7 separate regions of the Homo sapiens genome follow, and all the other regions are linked to region 5. The links are contacts of gene promoters, found by promoter capture Hi-C in blood cells and fetal thymus (Javierre and others, 2016). All regions are on one chromosome and are shown on one strand. Each heading gives the region's core, a stretch centred on a gene start or on the middle of the fragment in contact. The rest is flanking DNA. Distances are from core to core; before and after follow the strand shown.

The links. The method cuts DNA at HindIII sites, captures the fragments that hold promoters and counts their contacts. A CHiCAGO score of 5 or more calls a contact.
Region 1: a contact is called between a fragment that was not itself captured here and the fragment with the promoter of PCDH9 in region 5, in 1 of 17 cell types (total CD4 T cells). The highest score is 6.1, in total CD4 T cells.
Region 2: a fragment that was not itself captured here is called in contact with the fragment with the promoter of PCDH9 in region 5 in 4 of 17 cell types (naive CD4 T cells, non-activated CD4 T cells, activated CD4 T cells and 1 more); the score reaches 8.7 in naive CD4 T cells.
Region 3: a contact is called between a fragment that was not itself captured here and the fragment with the promoter of PCDH9 in region 5, in 7 of 17 cell types (total CD4 T cells, non-activated CD4 T cells, naive CD4 T cells and 4 more). The highest score is 36.9, in total CD4 T cells.
Region 4: a fragment that was not itself captured here is called in contact with the fragment with the promoter of PCDH9 in region 5 in 4 of 17 cell types (naive CD4 T cells, activated CD4 T cells, total CD4 T cells and 1 more); the score reaches 8.2 in naive CD4 T cells.
Region 6: a fragment that was not itself captured here is called in contact with the fragment with the promoter of PCDH9 in region 5 in 1 of 17 cell types (total CD4 T cells); the score reaches 5.1 in total CD4 T cells.
Region 7: a fragment that was not itself captured here is called in contact with the fragment with the promoter of PCDH9 in region 5 in 10 of 17 cell types (total CD4 T cells, non-activated CD4 T cells, naive CD4 T cells and 7 more); the score reaches 68.2 in total CD4 T cells.

The regions. Positions count from the first base shown.
Region 1 is chr13:60,152,472-60,155,690 of GRCh38, forward strand. The region is part of intron 1 of DIAPH3 (diaphanous related formin 3); the gene reads right to left. DIAPH3-AS2 (DIAPH3 antisense RNA 2) reads left to right here. Exons shown (of 3, transcript NR_046540.1): 3 at 925-1,034. Among named protein-coding and RNA genes, the nearest start is that of DIAPH3-AS2, 9.4 kb to the left of the region's middle. The HindIII fragment of the contact is 162 bases long and covers 1,501-1,662 here.
Region 2 is chr13:60,436,428-60,439,659 of GRCh38, forward strand. The region is part of intron 1 of TDRD3 (tudor domain containing 3); the gene reads left to right. Among named protein-coding and RNA genes, the nearest start is that of TDRD3, 41 kb to the left of the region's middle. The HindIII fragment of the contact is 3,464 bases long and covers 1-3,232 here.
Region 3 is chr13:60,456,058-60,459,773 of GRCh38, forward strand. The region is part of intron 3 of TDRD3 (tudor domain containing 3); the gene reads left to right. Among named protein-coding and RNA genes, the nearest start is that of TDRD3, 61 kb to the left of the region's middle. The HindIII fragment of the contact is 6,261 bases long and covers 1-3,716 here.
Region 4 is chr13:60,378,788-60,382,478 of GRCh38, forward strand. LOC105370228 (a long non-coding RNA gene) reads left to right here. Exons shown (of 3, transcript XR_942002.3): 3 at 2,135-2,661. Among named protein-coding and RNA genes, the nearest start is that of TDRD3, 17 kb to the right of the region's middle. The HindIII fragment of the contact is 2,053 bases long and covers 383-2,435 here.
Region 5 is chr13:67,228,402-67,232,074 of GRCh38, forward strand. It overlaps PCDH9 (protocadherin 9), which reads right to left and starts at 1,935. Exons shown (of 5, transcript NM_203487.3): 1 at 1,379-1,935; 2 at 1-174. The coding sequence starts at 39. RefSeq lists a silencer at 2,206-2,345. The HindIII fragment of the contact is 4,939 bases long and covers 1-3,602 here.
Region 6 is chr13:59,394,214-59,397,952 of GRCh38, forward strand. No RefSeq gene overlaps it. Among named protein-coding and RNA genes, the nearest start is that of DIAPH3-AS1, 620 kb to the right of the region's middle. The HindIII fragment of the contact is 4,044 bases long and covers 1-3,739 here.
Region 7 is chr13:60,398,428-60,402,146 of GRCh38, forward strand. The region is part of intron 1 of TDRD3 (tudor domain containing 3); the gene reads left to right. Among named protein-coding and RNA genes, the nearest start is that of TDRD3, 3.1 kb to the left of the region's middle. The HindIII fragment of the contact is 910 bases long and covers 813-1,722 here.

The DNA of each region.
Region 1 (3,219 bases), core at 332-2,831, 7.1 Mb before region 5:
TTACTTTTAGGGAAAGATATATATATATATATATAAATTGGAACCCTAAAAAAATCAAAATTGAATTTAAAAAAATCAAAATTGAATTAAAAAAAAAAGCCCTGTAAACCCAGGAAATGAAGAGTAAAGATTAGAAGGAGATAAAGATAAGAAGGGAGAAAATGAACATTTCAATGGAATTTATGATATTTAATGTTTTAAGCTTATTAGTGAGTATACAGTGTTTTACACCTCTTTTGTATGATACATACATGATAAAATATATTTTTTTAAAGATTGCAAGTTTCTTATTTAACCAAAAAAACTATTAGAAGCAAACTGTTTTGAAACACATTGTATACATCCTTCACTACTGATACTTACTAATCACTTTTACCTCATCACTAAACAAAGGACTAAGGTGAAAAACATTTGCCTGGTTCAGGTACACATCTAATTTCTTAACTCAAGTCATCTCTGGGTACCCCAAACTGTGGTCTACAGAGGCCTTCCACAAATTCTACTTAAGTCTTATGTTTTTTCAAGATTATCTTAAACATTAGAACTAAAGTAAGCATATTCTGGACATTGTGAATGACCCACTCTATAACCATGTTCTCTCAGGAACTTTTGGTTTTACTTTTGTAAATACTTTTGTATTTACTACCAATATGGTTCTCAATGAGGGCCAAGCAACATCATGACACAATAGATTTTCACAAGCTCTTCCACTTAGGAAGAGTTCAGTTCCAAATGGCTATTTATAATTCCAAAATCACATTATTCTGGAAACTATGCACCCACAGGTATGGAAAATTAGATTTCAAGAGAAAAATGAATATAGAAGCTGGAAGTATAAGAGTTTTTATTTTTTCTGCTGCTTCAACAGTTTTATAACATTTACTAAAAAATGTTTATATATGGCTATTTTCTTTTTAAAAACAGGTTTATAACAGTTCACTACTTCATCTACATCCTCAAGCCAACACCTATGAAAAAGATAATGGTGTCCGATGACAGGCCTCTGCTAACAGTGTAAGGCTATCTGTGAACTCCTCAGTCTACACATATCTTCCTCAGCCTCTGGGATTCCATTTCCACCCAAGAATTAAATTGATAGAAAGAAAAACAGCAAAATATACACATATTTTTCCACTATTAAATCCAATAATGATGACTTAATTTCAGCAAAACATCATCAATCGCATTAAATTAATGTTGCTGTTAATTTGAATTTTATGGGTTTTATAGTTTTGTTTTGGATTGTAGATGTAAATCTGTTTTAGTTTTATAGCTGTAAAAAGTGATAGGCATAAAGAGTTACACTTAGTTTTATATCTGTACATATATTAGTAACATTATTTTTATTATCATTCAAGTCCATATTGGAGTATCACAAGAATTTTTTTTCCTAAGTTTGAAGTTGTTTCCTTTATACGTTTTTTTGTAAGTTACATTTGTACCCCAAGTTTCATCATCCTATTATCCCCACTTTAGACATAAAGAACAGGCCCCTAAGAAAGCTTCAGAAACTTGCTCTGACCATTCAGTCATCAGATCAGAACTCTGCATCAATCCAAATGTTACCTGGTATGCCAGGATAAGAACTAAGAACAGAATGGCTCTGCCTCCAGCACACCAAGAGGAAATAGCCTGGTTCAATTAAGTTTTCCAAGATTAGAAAGCTTTTCAAATATCCAATGTATTCCTAATGCCCTAAAGTGTAGGCAAAAATTGTACTATTATTACTGTTACTACTAATGATAACAAAAACAACAATCCTATAAATGGCAAATATTTCCATAGAGGTTACAATGAGCCAGGTATTCTAGGCCCAAAACATAACTTTTAATCTTCATGACAACCCCATGTTACACATGAGAAAGGGGAGGCACAGAGAACGGTTAAGTAATTGCTCAGTTCACACAGCTAATAAGTGATATTGCTGGGATTCAACCCCTGAGAGTGGTTCAAGTCACTGCTCATAAATGTTACTCATAACGCTTCTTCTACAAAAAACTGTAAGAAAAGATAGCAGTGGGTCTTTTGAAGAATAAAATCTATGGCAAGCATTTCCAAATAGATTTCACTAAGTAACTAGTAACATGAATGTTTCAGGACCAAAGCTTATTTAAACTCTTAAATTCTCCCCTAAGTTAATAAAGACTATTCAATTTGCTATTTGAGAAAAATTACTCCCAATGGTAAGGTATTTCAATGCCATCCTGCTGCTACTGAAAGAAAAGTTACCTTTGTAGATCCTGTTCAAAGAAAGCCCATGCTTTGATCCTTAATATCCCATGAAGTAAAAGGTTATGCTTAATCTATATTTTATAGATCTAAAAGTCAAATTAGTTTCTGAGATAAACAAGCAAGAGTGTAAGGATAAGCATATTCTTTAGCATTCATTTGATTCCTAGTTTAGAGGATACTATGTGCTAAGTTAAAGACAATTACATTAGTGTAATACGTAGCAGTTTTTTCCTGTATTATTCTGCAGCATAAACAAGTTAGACACATGTTAATTTACATTCTATATAAAAAGCCAATTTTAAATCCAATTTATAAGGCAATAAATATATAAAGATTCTAGGACACAGCAATAAAGTTACGCCATAAAGTAGAGTTAATTCAAGACAACAATAATAAAAGCATGACAAATTTTAGCATTCCACCAACTGCACAAAGGTGTTTCAGGTAACATCTGTTCAGAAGCAATTGCTACAAGATAGACTAGATGAGATGCAAGGTTTCACCATGTAATAAATGTATGTCAGTTTGCTTGCTTCATAATTAAAGACATGAGTCTTTGAAAAAAGCAATTAAGCCCTGTTCTAAATCTGAGACAATCATCCCTATCTCTACCCCCACCCCTTTTTACCGTCAAAGAAAAGACCCAGAGTGGTCCAGGAGTATTAAATGCCATATGTTATCTACTTTCAGCAACTAAATGTATCCCCCAAAAAGCCACTTAATATATATTGTTTCTTTTGATAAATCATTTATTTAAAAAAATTTCTGGGTTTTTCTGTTTTATTAAGAAGGATAGAAAGGAAAGAATGGCTGGGAAAATTCAGAGCAATTTCTTAGAACAGCAGCCTGAATAAAATGATTTTACCTCCTTCTGAAGCTTACAATGCCTGGTGTGTGTTAGGTAGAATTCTGACACGAATAAAATTTAGGTGCCTAAAGCTTTCAACTAAAAACAGTATCTCAATTCTTGACAGTTTAACCCTAGGA
Region 2 (3,232 bases), core at 303-2,802, 6.8 Mb before region 5:
CCATCTTGAGTCGATTTTTGTATAAGGTGAGAGACGGGGATCCATTTTCATTCTTCTACATGTGGCTTGCCAGTTTTCCCAGCACCATTTATTGAAAAGGGTGTCCTTTCCCCAATTTATGTTTTTGTATGCTTTGTTGAAGATCAGTTGGCTGTATTTGGCTTTATTTCGAGGTTCTCTATTCTGTTCCATTGGTATCATTGCGTATTTTTATACCAGTACCATGCTGTTTTGGTAACTATAGCCTTGTAGTATAATTTTAAGTCTAGCAATGTGATGTATGGGCCTTGTTTGAAAGAAATCACATATTTGACTTATGTGGATAAAGGCAAGTTTCCAAACCCTTACAACTCTGCCTTTAGAATTTTTGTTAGACTTTACCTTTTAATATTTTGTAGGGATGGAATATTTTTATTCTTCTGAAAACTTGAATATCTAATAATTAGTTGATATTAGTTTCCTGATCTTCTACGATGCAGAAGGGAACAGCATGACTGCTTTTATCAACTGAGTTTTATACCTGTTCTTGTTTAATGTACTTTGGAGCTCACCAATTGAATTTGTCTAGTTCTGCTTTTGTCTGTGTGAGCTGAAGTATCTAGCTGATTAGGAAACTGATTTGGATAGCTACTGGCTTTTTTTAATGAGATTATCATATCACTAGTATCAGCATTAATTGTTTGATAAATTAAACTTTTTTTTTTTTTTTTTTTTTTGAGGCAGAGTTTTGCTCTTGTTGCCCAGGCTGGAGTGCAATGGCATGATCTCGGCTCACTGCAACCTCTGCCTCCCGGGTTCAAGCAATTATCCTGCCTCAGCCTCCCGAGTAGCTGTGATTATAGGCATGTGCCACCATGCCTGGCTAATTTTGTATTTTTAGTAGAAACGGGGTTTCACCATGTTGCTCAGGCTGGTCTCAAACTCCTGGCTTCAGGTGATCCACCTGCCTTGGCCTCCCAAAGTGCTGGGGTTAGAGGCGTGAGCCACTGTGCCCAGCTGAAAATGGTGTGTTATAATGGAAAGAGTGCTGAATTGGGAGTTAGGAGTCATTTTTGTTTTTAACTTTGCATCTTCTAAATTTGTATTTTTGGGGCAAGTTTAATTTTACATCTCTAGGACTCCTTCATCTGTAAAGTTGAAGAGGTGAATTTTGGTTATTTTTAAATTAAATTAATTTATTATAATATAAATAATCTATTATAATTTAAATTAATTAATCTATTCTAGTTTATCTGACATCCTATAATTCTTTAATTCTACAGTTTCCTTTCTAGAAAACAAAATATTCTATTAGTCATTACATACTATTTCCCTCTTGTGTAGGAGCTTGGAAAGCTGTGTTTTTGTAATCACTCAATCAGAATTTAATTTATCACCCATATCCTTTTGTGTACTGTTGCTTTCTAAAATTGGTCTCAACCTATACTTATCTCTTTTTTCTTCTCCATTTTCCAGCCAGAAAGCTCTAGGATATTATTCCTAGAAGGTGCTTCACACTTACTCACTTCCATGTTTTTGATTACACTATTCCTTTTCTGTGTTTTTCCCATCCCACAGCCACTTTGAGCTCCTATAACATTTTTATAGTTATTTTGGCCTTGTATGATAGCTGTTTATGTATTGTGTTATACTGTATAGCAGACTGTAAACTTCTTGAGGGCAGGTGTTTAGTTTTCATCATTTTACTAATCTTGTTACTGATTTCACACAATACTTTTCACATAAGCGGGGCATAATATTTATGAAAGTGAATTTATAAGATTATTAATTAGAGTTACAGATACAGTTGGACAATTTTTCATTATTCATAGTGAAAAATTAACAGGATAATAAATTATTATAGCCATTTTGAGTTAAAGCAGTATTTTAACCATCAAAATTGACTGCAGATATTTGTATTCCATGGTCACTTATATACTGTCATTCCTGCCTACCATCTATTCATTCTTACTGACTCATCGATATATTTGTATTTTCTCTGTCACCCATTTAACTACTTGCCTTCATTTATCATTGTGGTTTAACAGTGTCATGGTCTTAAACTTTTAATAGTACCTCATTTTGTTAACATTCTTGGTTTGACTTAAATATATATTTTTCTGACTTTTATCGCCTTGGTCTTGCTCATTGGCTTATCTACTTTAATCTTCTATTGCTCTTCTGTACTGTTCTAACTATTCACATTTCTTTTCACTTGCTTTTTTACTTTGGAGAAATTATTCTCTACTTCTTAAAGGCACTTTTTTTTGGTTGCTATTTCTGGGTAAGGTTTACTTTGATAAGTATCTTAGAATCAGTCTAGTGTTGAGAGTTGATGGTGGAATTGCTGTTCATCAAAAATGAGCTTGAGTTAGATCTCTTAGACTAGCAGTCTTGGATCCTTTTAACTGTGGAAGAATGTCTGCAATGGTGATGGTACCATTAGCCATTTGGTTAAAGGGGTTGATACTGATTATAAAAAATGTGAGATATTAATTGGGGTTTTTACAAGTGGATTTTTGATGGTTGATTTTAGAATTGTTGAGTTTATCAAAGAGTTTCAAAATGTCCATGGGTATGGGTAGAGACGAATTTTTTTCCTTCAGATTCAGTAATCTCTTTACTCTTGAATTAATTGTCTCTGACAGATGCATGGCTGATTTGGACTGGATAAAAGAAAAAAGGGCAAATAAGACAATGCGTAAAAAAAACTGAAAAGAGATAGGAAAAGTAAAAGATGTATTGTAAAAAGTTGCCTATCTTTGTGTTACTTGGAATTAATAGCCTTTATTGAAGGATCCTTGAGAACCTTATGTGAAAGAAAGGGGACTTGAGAAGATAATGTGAGAAAGTCCAGAGAGAAGTTCTGCTGTACTCAGTTTAAAACAGTGTTTATTTTAGTTTTATTTTTATAACACATCTCAATCTCTTTTTAAGATCTTATGGTATTAACAGATACTTAAGTCGAGATTATATTTGTATAATAGCAAAGAGCAGCTTATACATCCCTTAAGTATATTGACATTTAAATAGCTTTTCTCAGAAAGCGTATGAATAATCCTATTGACACAATAGCTCTTTAAGGGTACAAAAGAAAAGTATGCACTGTTCATCTCTTCTATAAGACATAGTAAATAAACAGGGAATCCATATCCAAGACTCTTTCCCTAGTATTTGTAGCAGAAGCACTTTATAGTAGAAAACAAAATTGCATGTAGACTTAAGAATTTTGGTTAATTTTGATTTTAGATAA
Region 3 (3,716 bases), core at 1,135-3,634, 6.8 Mb before region 5:
AGACTATGTCTCAAAAAAAAAAAAAAAAAAAGATTAATGGCTGGCATGTATTTTCAGGTTAAGTGTCTTAAATGGTTTCTAGAGTTAAGAAAAAAAAATTGTTTTAAGTGTTTATCCAGATGTGATTATACTGTAGAGAATTAGTCCCCTGTCATCCAAACTTTGGAGTCTGATTGATAGACAAGAATGTTATTTAGTATGATCAATAAATTAATAAATTAACACAACCATTTAAATCTGATATTTCATATCCGTTGGTATGACTAGTTAGGAGTTTAGATGACAGAGGTATTCGTCTACCTCAGGAGAAGAAGGAATGATGCCTGGATTAATGGCCTGAGAGAATATTTCTAGCAGATACTTAATATTGTTTGTTAGAGTTAGACATGCTTACCTGGAGGTGCAATGATACATCTTTCTAAGCCACTAAAATTTTTTAGAGTAATTTCTTTTGATTTTTTCTTATTACTAATACAAAAGAGAAAATCAGACATTAAAGAAGACTTGGGTGATCAAGATTAATCCTTTTTATTATTTTCATTTGAAATTGGTATTTTTTTTACTTTGGAGTTGCTCTTAACAGTAGTTGAAGAAAGATTTAGAAATTAATTCTTGTCTATTTTTGTGGATGTTTTAGATGACTTTTTTTGAGACACCTTTTTGTGTGTATGTGTGTCACCTGGGCCAGAGTGTAGTGGCGCAATCGTGGTTCACTGTAGCCTCCACCTCCCAGGCTCAAGAGATCCTGCCATCTCAGCCTCCCAAGTAGCTGCGGCTACAAGCACACACCACCACGCTTGGCTAATTTTTGTATTTTTTGTAGAGATGGGGTCTCCCTATGTTGCCCAGGCTGGTCTCAAACTCCTGGGTTCAAGCGAGCCACCCACCTCCATCCTCCAAAGTGCTGAGATTACAGGTGTGAGTCACCGCACCCAGCCTTAAGATGATTTTAGATTCAGGATTTAGGATCTTAGAACCATAACATTTAAAAAATTTTATTATGTATATTTTATCTAGGTCCATTACTTCCCTATGTTTTAACTACAGAGTATAAGAAACTGAATATTGTAAGCAGAATAATGAAAAAAATCGTTATATTTACTGGTTTACTCATAGAATATTTCTGAATTGTGGAACTACTAACTTAAGGCTTGATGATTCAAATTAAGAAGTGACAAGAGATTCTGTAAAATCTGTGGGTTTCTCAGGAGGATCTAATAAATAATACCTCCTTTCTACCTTGCTTTTGAACCAGTTAACAAGTACAAGAGTGGCATATGTGGGCCAAAATAACTTTATTACTGATTAAAATGTATTTTGAAGATGTGGCTTAGTGGGACAGCCAAATGGACGCATTAACTGAACCACAGAACATGTAGGCTTGTACACTCACTCGTAGAAGTGCCAATCCGGTGAGGAGGCTGAATAAGTGCCCCCTCCCTCATGTTCCCTAGCTAGGCTAGATCTCAAGAGGAAGATGAGTGAGGCTGAGGCCAATATACAGTATTTTCTTCGCAATCAGGTAACTCATTCCATAAGTGGGTATAGTAGTTATCTGAGGCTGCTGTAACAAATTACCACAAACTTGGTGGCTATAAAACAATGGAAATTTATTTTCTCACAGTTTTGTAGGCCAGAAGTTTAAAATTAAAGTGTCAGCAGGGTTGGTTCCTTTTGGAGGCTCTGAGGGAGTATCAGTTTCATGCTTCTCACCTAGCTTTTGGTAGCTGTAGCAGTCCTTGGCCTTTTTTGGCTTGTAGATGCATAACTTTAATTTCTGCCTTCATTTTCAAATGGTCTTTATACTCTGTCTGTGTTTGTTTCCCCTTCTCTTCTAAGGACACTCGTCATTGGCTTTAGGGCCCACTGTAATTCACAGTGTTCTCATCTTTAGATCCTTACCTTAATTACATCTGAAAAGAGCCTTGTTCCCAAACGAGGTCATATTTATAGGTTCTAGGTGGACTTGTCTTTTGGTGGAGCCACTATTTAACCCACTAAAAGAGGTGGAGAGGCCAGGAGTTGGATTAATTAAATAAGTAAACTTGCTGCTTGCTTGGAAATCGGCATTTGGGGGCAGGTGTTCCTCCTTATCCTTCATTCCCCAGATCTTTGTTCTCATAGTCAACCAGATGTAGGAGATCACCAAAATAGTCCTATTCCTGCCCTGTGTTTGCATCAATGGCATTGTCTTCAATTTGTGTTCCTTTGACAGAATCTTTTAAAGTGACATGTCCACTTTGTGAGCAATAGTGAGTAAAACTAGGTAATGTAATGCATGTGTCCATTTAACTGTACAAAGAAAAGGCAGTTTGTCACAACACATTGAAAGCAAACAAGAGAAGGTGTCATGTCAACACCCAGGGGACGTAGAACTCCCAAAATTCCATGAAGATGCCTAGTGACCTGTGTTGTATGGATTGAATAAGGGTGCCATGGTTGCTCCAGATATCGAATATTGGTAAAGTTGGATTTTTTTGACTACTAAACATTAAATAAAAGCAAATGTTTCCCTCCTACATTTGAATGGAAGTGCGGTGCCTAGGATGCATGAGTCTCATTTTGGAACATGTAGGCCTAGATCATCACCAACTGTGTGATGGTTTTTTTGCAATGATGAAAGTGGTCTAACTCTGTGCTCTCCATATATAGAACACTTGAAATATGGCTAGTACGATTGAACAATTTTTAATTTCACTTAATTTTAAGTGAAAATTTAAATAGCTACATGTGGCTGGAGGATTGTATTGGACAGCATAGGCTAGATATTTGTCAATGCCTAGGCTAAAAATATGGGATACCAAAATAAACAGAATTATGAGCTATAATAACCATAACATGCCTGTGATTTAATTTAAATGTCCTTATTTTAATGGCATTAACAAAAGCCAAATAAAAAGTTCATCCTGAATTAGCAGCTTATCTATACTTGTTAACAGTTTCGGACTTGCTTCAACTTGGAATTTTTTTTCGTAAGTGAAAATTAGATGAAATTTTAGATTATCTTTTCCAATTATGTTCTCTAGGCCTAAATTTATAATAACAAAATTACTCCTTTTTTAGGCAAAATACTGATAAATATGGAGTAGAAATTTTTCAACTTAGGAACATGCTTGCTTAGGAAATGTAGTGTAAATATTTGTCTATCATTTCACATTTCTCTTTGCTGAAAATATAAATTAATATGCACAGAAAGATTTTACTTAAAAGCCTATTTTTAAAACAGCCTTTTTCCCCTAAGGTATGATACTACTTAAAGATGTAGAAGTTGCCACTTTAGTTAAATTTACTTTTCAGACACGTAAGCAGATTTTACTGTTATTTCTCAACTTTGCTCTAAGTATATTTGTTTTATTTTTATCTTTGATTGAAATTTGGCCAACACATATAATACAGCATTAGATTTAATATCGAAGTTAAAGTTTTTATTTTAAAAAGGAAAATGTGAAAATATGTCAATTACAACTCATACTTCTTCAACTTTTTAGTTTTGGTGGTATTGTATGCTTCATGTATACCAGGAGAGGGAGCACTTTAAACTTGATGTCTCTGAACAGAAAACACTCTTTTGTTGTTGTGTTGAGACGGAGTCTCGCTCTGTCATCCAGGCTGCAGTGCAATGGCTTGATCTCGGCTCACTGCAACTTCCATTTCCCGGATTCAAGTGATTCTTCTGCCTCAGCCTCCCAAGTAGCTGGGATTACAGGTGCATGCCA
Region 4 (3,691 bases), core at 159-2,658, 6.9 Mb before region 5:
TTTCTTGTATCTCCAGGCTTGTATCATCCCGGATTTAAACCTATGTAAAAAGGGAACATGTCTCTTACTGGTAACTCCAGCAGAATCTTAGATGCTATTTTTACTGGACCAACTGGGGTCATATTCCCATTCCAAATCAAATTATCCCCTAGGGGAAATTAGTAGTCTGACTGGCCAGGCCTGAGTCATATGCTTCATCCCTGGAACAAGAGATGAAATTGTACCTGAACCACATGGATGCAAGAGTTGCAGAGAAATGGGAACCCAAAAGAAGTTCAAATACAAAACTGCTAGCAAAAGCGGGGTAATGACTTAAGAAAATCATCTGGAACCTACCCTTTGATTAACTTAACATCACTACACATCTTTCTTCATGTAGATAAGCTTCCAAACATGTCTTAATTTGCCACGTAATGACACACTTTCATGTGTACTCATGCCTTCCCGCAAGTGAGACAACTCAGCATTTGGTACAATTACTGCATCTAACTATAAATCTATAATATCTCGGTTATGCATGTGTATTAGTTCATTCTTACACTGCTATAAAGAAATACCTGAGACTGGGTAATTTATAAAGAAAAGAGGTTTAATTGGCTCACGGTTCTGCAGGCTGTACAGGAAGCATGGCAGCATCTGCTTCTAGGGAGGCCTCAGGGAACTTACAGTCATGGGAAGGCAAAGGGGAAGCAGGCTTATCTTATGTGGCCAGAGCAGGAAGAAGACAGAGACGGGGAGGTGCTACATACTTTTAAACAACCAGATTTCACAAAAACTCACTCACTGTCACAAGAACATCACCAGAGGGGAAACCTTCCCCCATGATCCAATCACCTCTCACCAGGCCCCACCTACAACATTGGGGATCACAATTCAACATGAGATTTGGGCAGGGACACAGATCCAAACCATATCAGCATGTTTAGATCTTAATATAATTCTCATGGTCTGAGAACTTATAGATAAATGATAAATCTAATCCCTCCCAATACACTCAAAATGTAATTGTAGATAGAAATAGGCTAATATCAACTTAGAACTCTTTTAGAGAGGAGGATAGAATGGGAAACAACTTTAAGTGGTGACTGACTCAATATTATATATCATGTCCTGCAGATGAGGAACTTTTTGACTGGGTGGTAAAAGAAAATTTTTGGACAGCGAATTTAGCTGCCTCTTTTCTTCCCTCTGGAAAGCTCTCCCAAATCTGGTATCCTCCATAGATAATGAGTAATAGGAAGGAAGCCCCTTGTGGTGGATGTACATCTTTACACCCCACTTCCTGGTACAGAGGAGACAGGAGTGTGAGAGCCAATTGTATACATCCCTTCTCACCTCTGTATCCAGTGAAACATGTTGATAGCTTGAAATGGCCATGAAGGGAGTATTTATACCACAAAATCAGCAACTATGAATCAAATGCTCCCCATAGCCAGTATTACCATTCTACCAGGACATCACTGAGAGGAAGTGAAGGGATTTCTTAGGACTTAGGGGTTTAGTAATTATCAACTTTTGTTTATTAATCTTGGAATTTCTTTGGCAGCGCAGTTTTTAAAAGAATTTAGTTAGCTCTGAGTCTGTAAATTCCATGGGTTAATCACCAACTCTGTTGATGTAAAGTTAGAGTCTTTCAACATAGAAGCTGGGCAGGGGATTTGTACTTCTTAGCAACTACCTTCAGTTCCTTCTTTGTTTGCCTAGACCCCAGTTTCAGGACCTTTATCTCGGCCTTTGTCTCCCAGCACAGTGAACATATGGTCTGCCAGTGAAGAGGCAATGGCTAATTGACTTTTGGCCCCCAAGCTGCAAACCCAGTGAATATTTGCAATTAAAATAATTATCCCCTGTTGCAAGAAGAGAATTTATAACAAGTGATGCTAGGTAGGAGCCAGACCATCAGACTTCTTTTAAGTGCCAGTTTCATCTCATGCTAGGTTTCCCACCTCCTGCTTTGTTTATATTTCTCTAGCTTAGTGCAGATTATTTTATTTGTATAATATTGCAAACCTTCAGATCACTGAACCCTCAGCCATCTTGGATTATAGGGCATTGACAAAGAATGTCTTTCTGAGAATATTTTTAAAATCTTTCAAATGGGTCAATTTCTATGAAGTTGTTCTCTCTCTTGTAGGAAGAAAATCAAGAGACTATGGTATCTGGCAAGTCAAATGAAGAATATGTATCAGAGTGAAAGAAATGCTCAACTGTGTCCATTGTCAAGGCTGATTGGCCACAAAAGGGTAAAGAAAGACTGAGTACTGGATTTGGCAATCTGCAGACCTATGATGACCTTGAGCAGTTTCAAAGGAGTAATGGGGACAAAATGAGATGGGTTTAAGTGAAAATAGAGGAGAGAAATTGGAGAAAGTAAGTAAGTCTTTGACAGGGTTTTGGTGTGAAGAAGAGCTTCCAATATTATTTCTAACCCAATAAGCTTTTGACTGCATGCCCCTCAATATATTACTTTCAAAGAGAAGGGTATTTTTCTACTGGGTCTGTCACATTCCTGTAACTACTCTAATGAGCCTAACTCATTACCACCTTATGGAATCTATAGGTATTACAAAAATGAGTGTTTTTTTTGTTTTGTTTTGTTTTGTTTTTTAAAAAAACCCTTTTACCTTTTTGCTGTTAGTCAATAGTATAACAAGGGTCACAGTCAGGGCCATTTGTTGAGAATTTATGACAGCTAATATATATAGTGACTTGAATTACCCAGGATCCCTGAGTTCTTTTTATTACCTAAAATGATCAAGAAACAGCTTCTGATATATATTTTTAGTTTTATTGTTAATAAAATGAAGATTAAAAAATACAGATACAATACTGCAACATAAATAAAAAATAGACTTAAAAAGTAGTTTGAGGTATAATGAACAAAATTATACACATTCCAGGCATTATTAATCTATTTACATTTTTATCCACTATATTTAATTCCACTTATTAATACTTCCTGGGAAATCTCATTTTACTTTGTTAAAGTTAGAATAATCAATTTTAAAGCTATCATCTGCTGGAAGGTCTAAATTTGAGAATGAATGAATTTATGCAGGCTTTTCTAAGAGCCTTGAATTTTAAAAAGACTTACAGTTTATATATAATAAGGATCAACCTCTCCCCCACCGCTCATTTGTAGATAGAATGTGCATTTGGAGGTAATACTATCCTGGCTATTTGCTTGACATTTCTGAACAGAGCTTAAGTACAGGAAGTAATGAAGAGCAGTGATAATGGAAGGAAATGCTGAACAATATTATTATTCAGCTCAGTTCCTACCTTCTGCCTCCCACATGCTGTTTTTCAGCAGTAGGGGCTATCTTTGGTGGGGTATTTTTGTTTTTTGTTTTTTTGCATTTTGATGTGGGGAGGAGGAAAATATCTCCAGTCCTTAGAAGACAAAGAGGTTGGCATGCTTGGGAGAGACAGGATTCATTTTTGCTGTGTTTCAGGAACACCCTCCAGTCCCCTGACTTCTGACTTTACTCCACACAGGCACTTGTCCTTCATTCAGCCACTGTCCTGTATTCGGGACTATGGCTTCAGGACATTGGCAGCTGATTATTGTTACTGTCCCGGGCTATAAATAAGGTTAACCTATATCCAATCAGTTATCCAGACCAAATTTTCCCTTATAGCCTAGTTTGAAACTGCAAAATGCAAAATGTTTCAAGCTCCTTGTCCTGTA
Region 5 (3,673 bases), core at 685-3,184:
AATCAGAGCAGCCAACAGGTAAAAATCCCTCAGGTCCATGATAATGTATTTATTTTCTTTTCCTGGATTTTAGGGTTTAAAGGTTTCCACTGAGGAATGATGCACAAATTGCAAGAGGAAGCGTGCATGGACTGGAGGATGCATTATATCTCATCACTTATTTGGAGACAGCCGCTGTCAACACAATTGTATAGACAATATTATTCTTCAGTAAATAAAAACACACCGTCACAAAATATCACCACACATTTTCCCCTGAACATTAGTAAACATGGCAGTTTGCTCTGCCACTGTTTGCAAGTTTACTCTGTGGAGAAAAACACTAAATATCTCCTGCTGGTTGCATTTGCCGGGAGAAAATAAAATTTTCTACTTTTGAATTAAGGACAGCTGCTATTTTTACCTATATTCACGCACGTTGTTTTTCAGAATACTGTTTAATTCAAAACATGCATTCTTGTTCTCCTCTTCCCCTCCCCCTGTCTCACCCTCCTCCTAGCCTCTAACCTACCTCCCTCAGTCTTTTCAGGTGCAAGTGAAAAACACTAAGTATTTAGCTACGGTTCCTGCTAATTGCTTTGTCACATGTCAAATGTGTTTTCTTCTCTGCCCCACTGAGTCACCTATCTTTTCTAAAAAGGCTATCTTTTTCTTTCCTCCCAGTTCTTCAACTGCCTTCTAATACAATCTTACTGGGAAACGAGCATCCGGACATGCCGCTGCAGCGGCATCAGAAGCAATAGTCACCGGCCTCTACACATCCTCATTGCCTAAAAGCACAACAACAAGACTTCAGATTTCTTGCCCACAGCTTGCTCTCCTTTCTCCATATTGACAAATTATCCTCATTAGGATTCATAAACACATTAAAACTTTTAAAAATGTATAATAATATAGGATTCATTTTCCTAGAGGTGGAAGAGAGTGCCGAGATATAAGTGAAACGCAGCTAACATTCCCATGTAACATCACAATATTTTCTACTGAACATAAAAGAGAAAAAAAATGCAATTTCTTAATCCTGATCTCTGGTTAGAATATTAGTAACATTTGCCACACATAAATACTGCAACCCAATCATGCAGGTAAAAAGGCTTCTGCTTAGATAACTGCAGTTTAAATGGGTGCAAGGCTCCAGGCAGCTACCTACTTGAGTAGGACTGGTCAGTTCTCAGGCTCTAATCTTATCTGCATTAGGCTGCACAGTAGCTGATGCCCGCGATTAGTTCCGGCAGAGTGATGCAGGTAGGGATGCAGATACAGCCGAGTAGGTGAGCTCTGCCCCAACCGTCTACCCAATTACAAGCATCTTTCGCCTACACTGAGGACACATCTAAACACAGAATTTACAATTGTGCATGCGAAACTTTACACTTACGTTAGTTGCCTCAACCTTTCCCCTTTCCCAGTATGCTGCAGTTAGGAATGATTTGTTCCAACACATAGAAAGCCATGCATCTGGTAGCACCAGTTTGGGGAGAAATCAGAAGCAGCAAAATGTTTCCTCCTTGTAAAATGTGTTGCTTCGGGCTGGCAAATTAGCAACTCCAGAGAACAAATTCACGGATTTGTCGTTAGTCATTCTCTCCACATTTCGTCTCTCTTACCCACTGGGTCTGGGTTCTTCTGGGCATTTAGCACACACAACACATAGTTGCACTTCTTCAGCTCAGGGATATTTTCCACAGCAGCATGCATACCATTTCCATCCGATGCCAATACTGCTTAAGTCTCTAACTTCTTGTAGGAAACGTCAGAGTTGCGGTGATGATGATTCTCTGACAGCTATCCGGGTGACAGTTGCCCGAAAAATTCCTAATCGGTTATCTCTTGCGTGCTTCAGAGACTCTGAGGCGCTCCTTTCCGTCTCGCGTGCTCTCCCTCTCTCCCTTCCCCTCTGCCCCTCTCTCCTTCTCCCTCTCCTCTCTCTGAACTGAATTTCTTGATATAACTCTCAATAAGCCCAGAGGGAGGGCGTGACTGCCCAGGCCCCGCCCCCGGGCTCTGATTGGCCTGCATCTTGCGGCGCGGGCGGCCGCAGCCCGGCGCGAGGGAGGGAGCGCGGAACAAGGCGCTGACTGTCTCCCAGCCTCCCCTCCTCCGCGCCCCCTCGGCAGCAGCGAAAACCCGGAAATCTGATCCTGGCCCCAGGAGAGCCGGGTTCCATGAGGTGCACTGAGCATGCTCTGCAGGGTCCGGCGTGGGAGGGACGCGCTGGCGCTCCCCAGGCCCGGGCGGAAGCGGCGCTCGCAGGCGCTGAAAGCGAGCGACCCTCTGAGCCCGGGTGGTCCGGCGGGCAAGGGCGGCGCGGGAGACCCGCAGGGCGCGGGCGCGGATCCGGGGAACCAGGGCCACCGCTGCGGGCGGATGGGGGTCACCGAGGCGGCTCGTCTCCAGGCGCACACTTCGCACATCTCTTTGCTAAGTGAAGGGGCCAAAATGCACAGATGGGGGAGTCTACCCAGGAACAGAGGCGCGAGACGTATAGCCACCCCTGGGTTGGGAGCACGAGCCAGCAGATCCCCGGAGCGCGTTAAACGGACAACATGCCCGGTGCTGCAAATAGAGGCTTTTGCTGGCAGGGACATTGGAAAGAAGGGCGGAGAGGGAGTACAGCGAAAGGTGGGGACCGCAGAATTTGGAATCTCTGCGGAGACCGGAAAGAAAATTAATCGGAGCACTTCCTACATGCAGAGCCACGGAAACTGCCTTGGAAAGAGAAAGTGGCAGCGTCTGGGTCCCCTCGGTCAGCCCGGGCCAGTCGGCTGCGCGTGCGAAGTCTCCTCTAGCGGAGCGGGACCGGCCGCGGCGGTGGATCGTGGCGGTCCCTGCACTTCTGCTCCAGCCGCGCCTGGAAACCTGAGCCCGGACTCGCGGCTGCTGCAAAACCCGCTTCCAGCCCACCTCACTGCGAACTTTGCTTCCGAGGGGCTGGAAGGAGTCCCAGGCAGCTGTTTCCCAAGCTGTGGAACACTTCCTTTCCCCTAGGCACTTTCTGCTGATTCCAACTTTCTTTCCTGTGATTTTCGTCTTTTCCCGTGCATTTCATTTCTCCGACTCCAGCTCTGTACTAAATCCTCACAAGTTTCTCGTTTTCATACGGGAACTGGATGGAATGACTCCCCAAAAAATACAGCTTTATTTCTCAAATACTGACCCCCAAAGCACTATCTAGTAATATATTTGATTGATCTTTCAAAGTCAGTAAACCACAAAGGTTTGTGTAATGGCTTGTACTTAACGCCTGATACCTGAGTAAAGTTTGAAGCATTAACATAGGAACAGTTCACTTGGAACAAAAATTTATTTTCTGAATGACCTATAAAGGTTGTCAGAGAAGGTCTTAGTACATGATTGAATAACTTGGTCTAACTTACAGGAAGAATAAAGGGCATTTATTTTAAACCTGTGTGTTCCCCATTCTATAATGGGCTGCCTAGGCATTAAAGGCTCTTGACATACTTAAGCTCTTGACTGAGGGCGTGTTGGAGATTACCCCTTGTTTTTGAGTACAATAGTTTTGTTTGCTTTTTTTCTTTTTTAAGTAACATTTGTTTTTAGACGTTTAAATGAAAAGTAAAAAAAAAAAAAAACACCAATCAAGCTTACTAAGCCATATATTGAATAAATAATGACATGATTTAACCAACTAATTTGACATCACAATTTTCCA
Region 6 (3,739 bases), core at 760-3,259, 7.8 Mb before region 5:
TGATGTCACACACACAAAAAATGAAAATTTGATGAACCGGGTGTGGGGAAATTGTACTCTCTATTTGAATTCATCAGTGGCATACATTCTGAGCTTCACATGTGGCACATAGCAAGATATTTTAAAATTCTTCTTTCCATGAAATGAAATATGTTTACTATGCATATAGTACTGGAACAAGTACTGTATCCTTACTAGAATGTGAAGAATATACTTGGCTTGATAAATCATCTGGGGGCAATAAGCATGAGTAGCAAGGTACTTATTTTTGTGTAAATGTCCTTTAACTCACACCACTGGCCAAACCTTACATTCAGCCTCTTATTATACCCTGCCTTAAAAAAAAAACTTGTCTTAGTCAGTTCAGCTGCTATACATATTAAAAAACAATATCATAGACTGAGCAGCTTAAACAACAGAAATTTATTTCTCACAGTTTTGGAGTCTGGGAATTCCAAGATCAAGGTGCTGTCATTTCCGGTGCCTGGTGAGGGCTTGTTTCCTGGTTTGGAGATGGCTGTCTTCTCATTTTACACAACAGAGAGTAAAGAGAGAAAGCAAGCTCCCTTAGGTCTCTTATGCGCTAATTCCTTCCTGAGATCTTCATCCTCATAACCTAATTACCTCTCAAAGGCCCCATCTCCAAGTACCATTTTGCTGAAGATTAAAGTTCTAACATGAATTTTAGGTGAGGACAGAAACATTCAATCCATAGCATAACTCTTACTTAAATGAGTATATACAATCAATAGCAGTTATTTCTATTCCTGTCTCCTTAGAACTTATCATACCTCATAGAACTGAATTTAAATACATTTCCTGATGACTAAATTGCAACACATTCCAGAAATCCATCAAAACTTGCCTCCCCCAAGCATGCTCAGATGCACTTAGAATAAAGTCCAAACTGTTTTTTTGTTCTGAGACGGGAGTCTCACTGTTGTTGCCCAGGCTGGAGTGCAATGGCGCGATCTCTGCTCACTGCAACCTCTGCCTCCCAGGTTCAAGCAATTCTCCTGCCTCAGCCTCCTGAGTAGCTGGGATTACAGGCACCCACCACCATGCCCGGCAATTTTTTGTAATTTTAGTAGAGATGGGGTTTCACTATGCTAGCCAGGCTGGTCTCAAACTCCTACCTCGGGATTCGCCCGCCTCGGCCTCCCAAAGTGCTGGGATTACAGGTGTGAGACACCGCACCTGGCCCAAATTCTTTTACCTTAAACAAAGGCCCCGCCTGATCTGTGCCTTTGACCTCCTCTTTATCTATTCCAACTTTACCTATTCCAGCTTTACCAGACTTTATGTAACGTATTTTTCCAGCCTCATTTTCCCTTCAGGACTTGGCATTTGCTGTTTTCTTTGCCTAGAAGTTTCTTGCCCCCAGGTCTTTGGCCAACTCATTGTTCATATCTTACCTCAAAGGCCACCTTCTCAGAGAGGTCTTCCCTAAACATCCTAACTCCTCTCTATTCTACTGTGCTGGACCATAGCATTTATCTGTATCTGAAATGTTTATTTACTTCTTGTCTCTGTCATGGGAAAAGCTGACCCCCTAAGTCTGGTCCTAAGAGCCTCTCCAGGTTCCTGGTTTGTTTTCCAGTTCTCTGCTGGGACTGGAGCCTGCCCCAAATCCTAAATTGTTTACCTTGGTTTTGATTCCCTGTTTTCCTCCCAGCAGCCCACTCTGCCTTAGAACTGGATCCAACTCTCTGTACTCTCGTGCCTTGTTCCGAGAGAGGAGCCTTCCTAAAACTTTTTTTTTTTTTTTTTTTTTTATTGTGACGGAGTCTCGTTCTGTCACCCAGGCGGGTGTGCAGTGGTGCGATCTTGGCTCACTGCAAGCTCTGCCTCCTGGGTTCACGCCATTCTCCTGCCTCAGCCTCCTGAGTAGCTGGGACTACAGGCGCTCACCACCACGCCTAGCTAATTTTTTGTATTTTCAGTAGAGATGGGTTTCACCGTGTTAGCCAGGATGGTCTCAATATCCTGACCTCGTGATCCGCCCGCCTCAGCCTCCCAAAGTGCTGGGATTACAGGTGTAAGCCACCACACCTGGCCAACTTCTCCTCTTTCAAAGACTCTTGCTGTCATAGCTAAACCTACTAGGTTAGAATCTTTGGATGAGACCTAGGGACTTGGATTGAACACTCATCTCCTTAAGAAACAGCATGAACATGAAAGCTGTTCTCTTACTTCTCTGGCATTCCTTAAGTTAGTAAGTTCTTTTGATTCTCCAGAAGTCCTTGAGGTTTTCAGGAACATCATCTCTGGGAATAGGAAATTTCCTATTAATCCTATCCATACACCAAAAATATGATTCAAGAAAGTTAATGTAAGGAGTATATGGTACAGTGAGGTGGTTAGTTGCATGAGTCTGGAGTCAACATCTTGGTTCAAATCCTAGCTATGCCAGTTACTTACCATACAACCCTGGAGACATTACTGAAGATCTCTGAGCCTTAATCTCCCACGTATACATAAGGGTCACAAAACAAAGAAATAATGTCATAATAAGGAAAAGTTGTTGTGAGGATTCAGTGAGATAATGTAAAGTGTTCAGATTCATGCCAGATCCATTCACACATTGCTTGTGGAGGTGAAGAATGATACAACCCTATGGAGGGCAATTTGCAATATGTACTAAAATGATACATGCACTTACCTTTGGTATAGCATGGCACCCATACTCACAGTTGCACCTCCACAAGTACAGCATAGGCACAAGATTATTTGCTAAGGCTTTATTTGTAATAGCAAATATTGGGAAAAACCTAAATGCACAGCCACAGAAGATATATAGATTGATAGATAATATTTATATATGTTTCCCATAGGGCAGAAAATATATATGTATATATAGACACACATATATATATACACACATATATACCTATGCATATATATATACACCCATATATACCTATGTGTATATATAATTCATGTATAACTTTTTTGCTTATTTTTAAAAAATAAAATATAGGAAGAACAAATCAGAAACTAATGAAAATGGTTTATCATAAGGGGTGGATGGAAATTTGGAGAAAGAAGCAGGAATAAAACTTCTGAACAGACACTTTAAATGAAGTTTTGCCTTTTGAATCATGTAAATGTTTCATAATTCTAAATTTAAATTTATATTAAAAAGGACTTACCAAAAGCAAACTCTTAAAATTGAAATCAAACAGAAACAAATGAATCTAACTATATATCAACTTGATAATATAACCACACACAAAAAAAGAGAAATAATTAAGTAGGTTTTGAACACAGTTGCCTTAGTAGAATTGTATCAGACAAATTCAAATTGTGGAACTTTCTCTAGGACATCTGTCCTGGAGTCTTCGAAAATATTAATGTTGCAAACTACAAAATGGCAAGGGAGAGCTGTTCTAGATGGACACAGACTAAAGAAACAAGAGAAGCAAACACAATGTGTTATCCTTCCTTGGATCTTGGATTTAACAGAAGAATGACTATAAAAAAACATTATTGGGACAACTAGGGGAAATTTGAAATTGAACTGCATGTTACAATATACTATTGTATGCATGTTAAATACCTTGGATATGATAATGATAGGGTAATATCTTTGTTCTTAGGAGATGTATGTTAAAATATTTTGAGAGAAAGTATCATGATTCTGCATGAAACTTACTTTCAAACTTTCAGCCAAAAAAAAAAAGAGAAAAAGCGAGAGAGAAAGCAAATGTGAAAAATGCTTATTATACTGTACGTTTGA
Region 7 (3,719 bases), core at 18-2,517, 6.8 Mb before region 5:
TAGCACAGAGCTGCTGGAGATGACACAGGGAAGCGCTTATTGTTTTGCAGAACCTACACAAGATCTATATGGTTCGTGAAAGATGTGGATTTGATTTTGTGAATAAAGTTTTTGATCAGTAGAGGGATATAATCACAACTGTGCTTTGAAGAAGCCCCTCCTGATTTTAAAGGCACTTGTGTTATTATACACCCCATTTTACAGGTGAGGAGACTGAGGCAAAGAGCTGTTAAGTAACTTTCCCAAAATGACATAGCTAGAAAGTGGTGGAGTTGAATGTTGAGCACAGAGGGCCTGGCTCTGGGCCTGGTTCCTTTAACGCTTATGCGTTATTGTTGTTACAGTTTTTTCGCAGAACAGCATGGGCGTAAAAGATTGTAGAGTTAAAAACACTGTCTTCAGTTTTGTTTCTGTTCAATAGGAATCTCTTCTTTCAGTTTTTTTACCCACAAGGGTGTCCTGAATAATCTTGGATCCCTCTTTCATTTGCCTTTCTCCCCATTTCTCATTAGGTTGAGCGTTGATCCTTCACACTAGTAATATTTTCATTTACAAACTCAGTATTTTACTGCTTTCCAACATGACCCCCCCTCCTTTGGAAAGATTAGTCTCATTTTTTAGGTCCCGAACACGTGTTGACTTTGTTTTCTCTGGCCTCTTATGCTTTTCCAGGGCAGGGAAGTGAGTCTTATTTTTCTCCTTATCTGGATTGTCAAGAAATGCACCAGATTGTAGGTTCTCTGTAAAGTCTAATACAGTTGACCTTGGAATGCCCCTGCCAGTCAGAATTCTCTGGGCAGGGCCTCTGCAGAAGCTTAGGTAGAGTCCCACCCTGCTTCGTTATATTGTTATAAATCTTCAGCAATGTTATATTGTAGCATTTGCTACTTTATATTGCAACTTAACTGTTTATGTTTCTCCCACCTGTCTGTGCTGCTTCTGTATGGCAGTGACTCATAAAGGCAGTAGTAATCTGCGGGGCTAAAAACACTATCTTTCTAGGAATTGTGAGTTTCATGTAATTCCTGCTAGGTCTCGAACAGACTAGGCATGAGGATCTCCTAGGCTTTCAGGTGGCTTCTACTAGGTCTTTAATTGGGGACTTACTATGTTAAAATTTAGAATCACAAAGGTTTAAAGGCAGAAAAGAGCACTGGAGGGAAAATTTCTGACTGAAGGGCTTTCACCAACTCATTTTAGTTCTTATATCCTGAGTTTGCTCTTACACTTGGGGTTCTCTGTTAACTGTCACTGACAAACCATTTTTCTTAGTATTCAAATCTATGTACTTAGTTACTTGTAGAAGCTAAAAAGAAGTAGATGCTAAAACATGGACACACTATTGTTAAATCTGTTCTATAGGCTTCACCTAAAATAGCAGATTAGGGAAATATTTAGTGCTGAAAAGTTTACAATTCTGAAAATGTGATCTTCAGGGGGGTACAGAAGATCTATGTAGACCAATCTGTTCAAGTTTACATTATTTTTAAGCGCAGTTTTTTTCCTTCTTAAGGTTTTAATCTTCATTAGAACCCCTATAAAAATCAGTATTTTAAAATATAACTTCAAAAGTAGCTACCTGGCGGACTTAAAATAATTTTTGTTCTTCAATGGCCAGTAGCACACAAACTATTAGATTTTGCTGATTTGAACTTGAATGTTCCAGGGCTTTCTACAGAGTAGTGATAATGTTTAAATAATGCACTAAATGGTACCTTGTAAAGCTTAATTATATGCATGGAATAACTTCACGGGGAGAAGAAATTTGACTCTGAATTTATCTAGATAACAATTTTACTCACTCTGCATTTTTGTTTTCTCTCTTCAGAGGTTCATTCTCCTTTAGGATGATATCCCTGATCACTGTGAGTGGAAATATAAAATTCTACTCACAGGAGAAAGATTCAAAATGTTGATCTCTGGACATTTTGAATTTTTCTCTTCCATCTCCTCCTTTGTTTGTTTGTTTTTAACAGAAACCTGTCACGGGGTACCTAATCAGTTGTGTTTTTGTTTTTGAAAATGTATCTTCTGGCTGGGCGCAGTGGTGGCTCATGCCTGTAATCCCAGCACTTTGGGAGGCTAAGGCGGGTGGTCAGGAGTTGGAGACCAGCCTGGCAAAAATGGTGAAACCCCGTCTCTACTAAAAATACAAAAAAATTAGCCAGGCGTGGTGGCAGGCCCCTGTAATCCCAGCTACCTGGTGAGGCTGAGGCAGGAGAATCGCTTGAACCCAGGAGGCGGAGGTTGCAGTGAGTCGAGATTGCACCATTGCACTCCATCCTGGGCGACAGAGCGAGACTGTGTCTCAAAAAAAAAAAAAAAAGTGTCTTCCATGGAATTAATGTTGCATAGCTTAACTCTCTCTCTGTGCATATGAAGAAACTGAAGCACAGAGAGTTTCAATAATTTGCTCAGAGTTATAAATGGCAGAACCAAGAATAGAGCCCAGATGTCTAGAATAAAGATTCAGTACTCATTTCCACCAAAAATTAACAGAAGTGACCGCATCTAATTTAAATTATTGATCAAAAGTGACACATTTAAAAATTGAAAATTGGGTTGAAGCATTTTGTGGTGTGTAAATTTACTTTCCTAGTCCAGGAAAGATAAAGGGCTTATTCTGAGGGGTGATCCTATTAGAATCAAATAAATCTTTGCCTTGCAGTGAATCAACTAATTGTGTACTAGGCTTATCTGAAAATCTGGTAAATTCTGTATTTTTTAAGGTTTAAGAATACAGTTGGCCCTCCATATCTGTGGGTTCTGCACCCTTGGATTCAACCAGTCACAGATCTAAAATATTTGGAAAAATAAAAAAAAATAAAAATAACAATACAACAACAAAAATAATATGAATAAAAAATAAAATATAATTTTACATAGCATTTACACTGTATTAGGTATTTTAAGTAGTCTAGAGATGATTTCAGGTATGCAGGAGGATGTGTGTAGGTTATATGCAAATACTACACTACACTATTTTGTGTCAGGGACTTGAGCATCAGTAGACTTTGTTATCTGTAGGGGCCCTGGGACCAATCCCTTATGGATACTGAGGGATGACTGTATCTGAAAAAGTGGGACACTGTATTGTGTGTCTTTGCTTCTTTTACCCAGTAGTTTGAGTTGAAGACCCTTTAAGGTAGCATATGAAATAGCATTTCCATTTTGTTCTGAAAGAACATGTAGTCTTAGGAAGCCCAGTTTTCTAACACCCAGGTGTTAGCCATGGAGTACTCCAGGTTTTGTTTTGTTTGTTTGTTTTGAGGGCAGAGATGGGATGGAGAGGATAAACAAAGGTCTCCTTCTTACCTCTTGAATTTCACTTTCCCCTTTGGGGTTATCTCCATTTGATTATTGGTGCTATCACCATGCTAACATCCTCTGGCCCAAGTGCATACATAACTCCTTTCCCTTCATTTCACCTTTGAACAACTAAGAAAGCCTACAGCTTATTAAGGTCTTTGTCAAAATGTAGAACTGGAAAACAACCATGGGATAAATAGAAAAAAATAAGAAGCATAATGACAGTATAGGTTATAAAGTGATTATTGCACTCTTGTATTCAAGGGCCCACTCTATTCCACATTACTTTGAAGATAGCTACTACAAAGATGTGGAACAACTTCAGGATATTTTGCTGGAATTTCTAATTCCTAGTTTTTGACCTGTCCACAGATGAAGGGCTTCTTTTCACATTCCATTACATAGAGGCT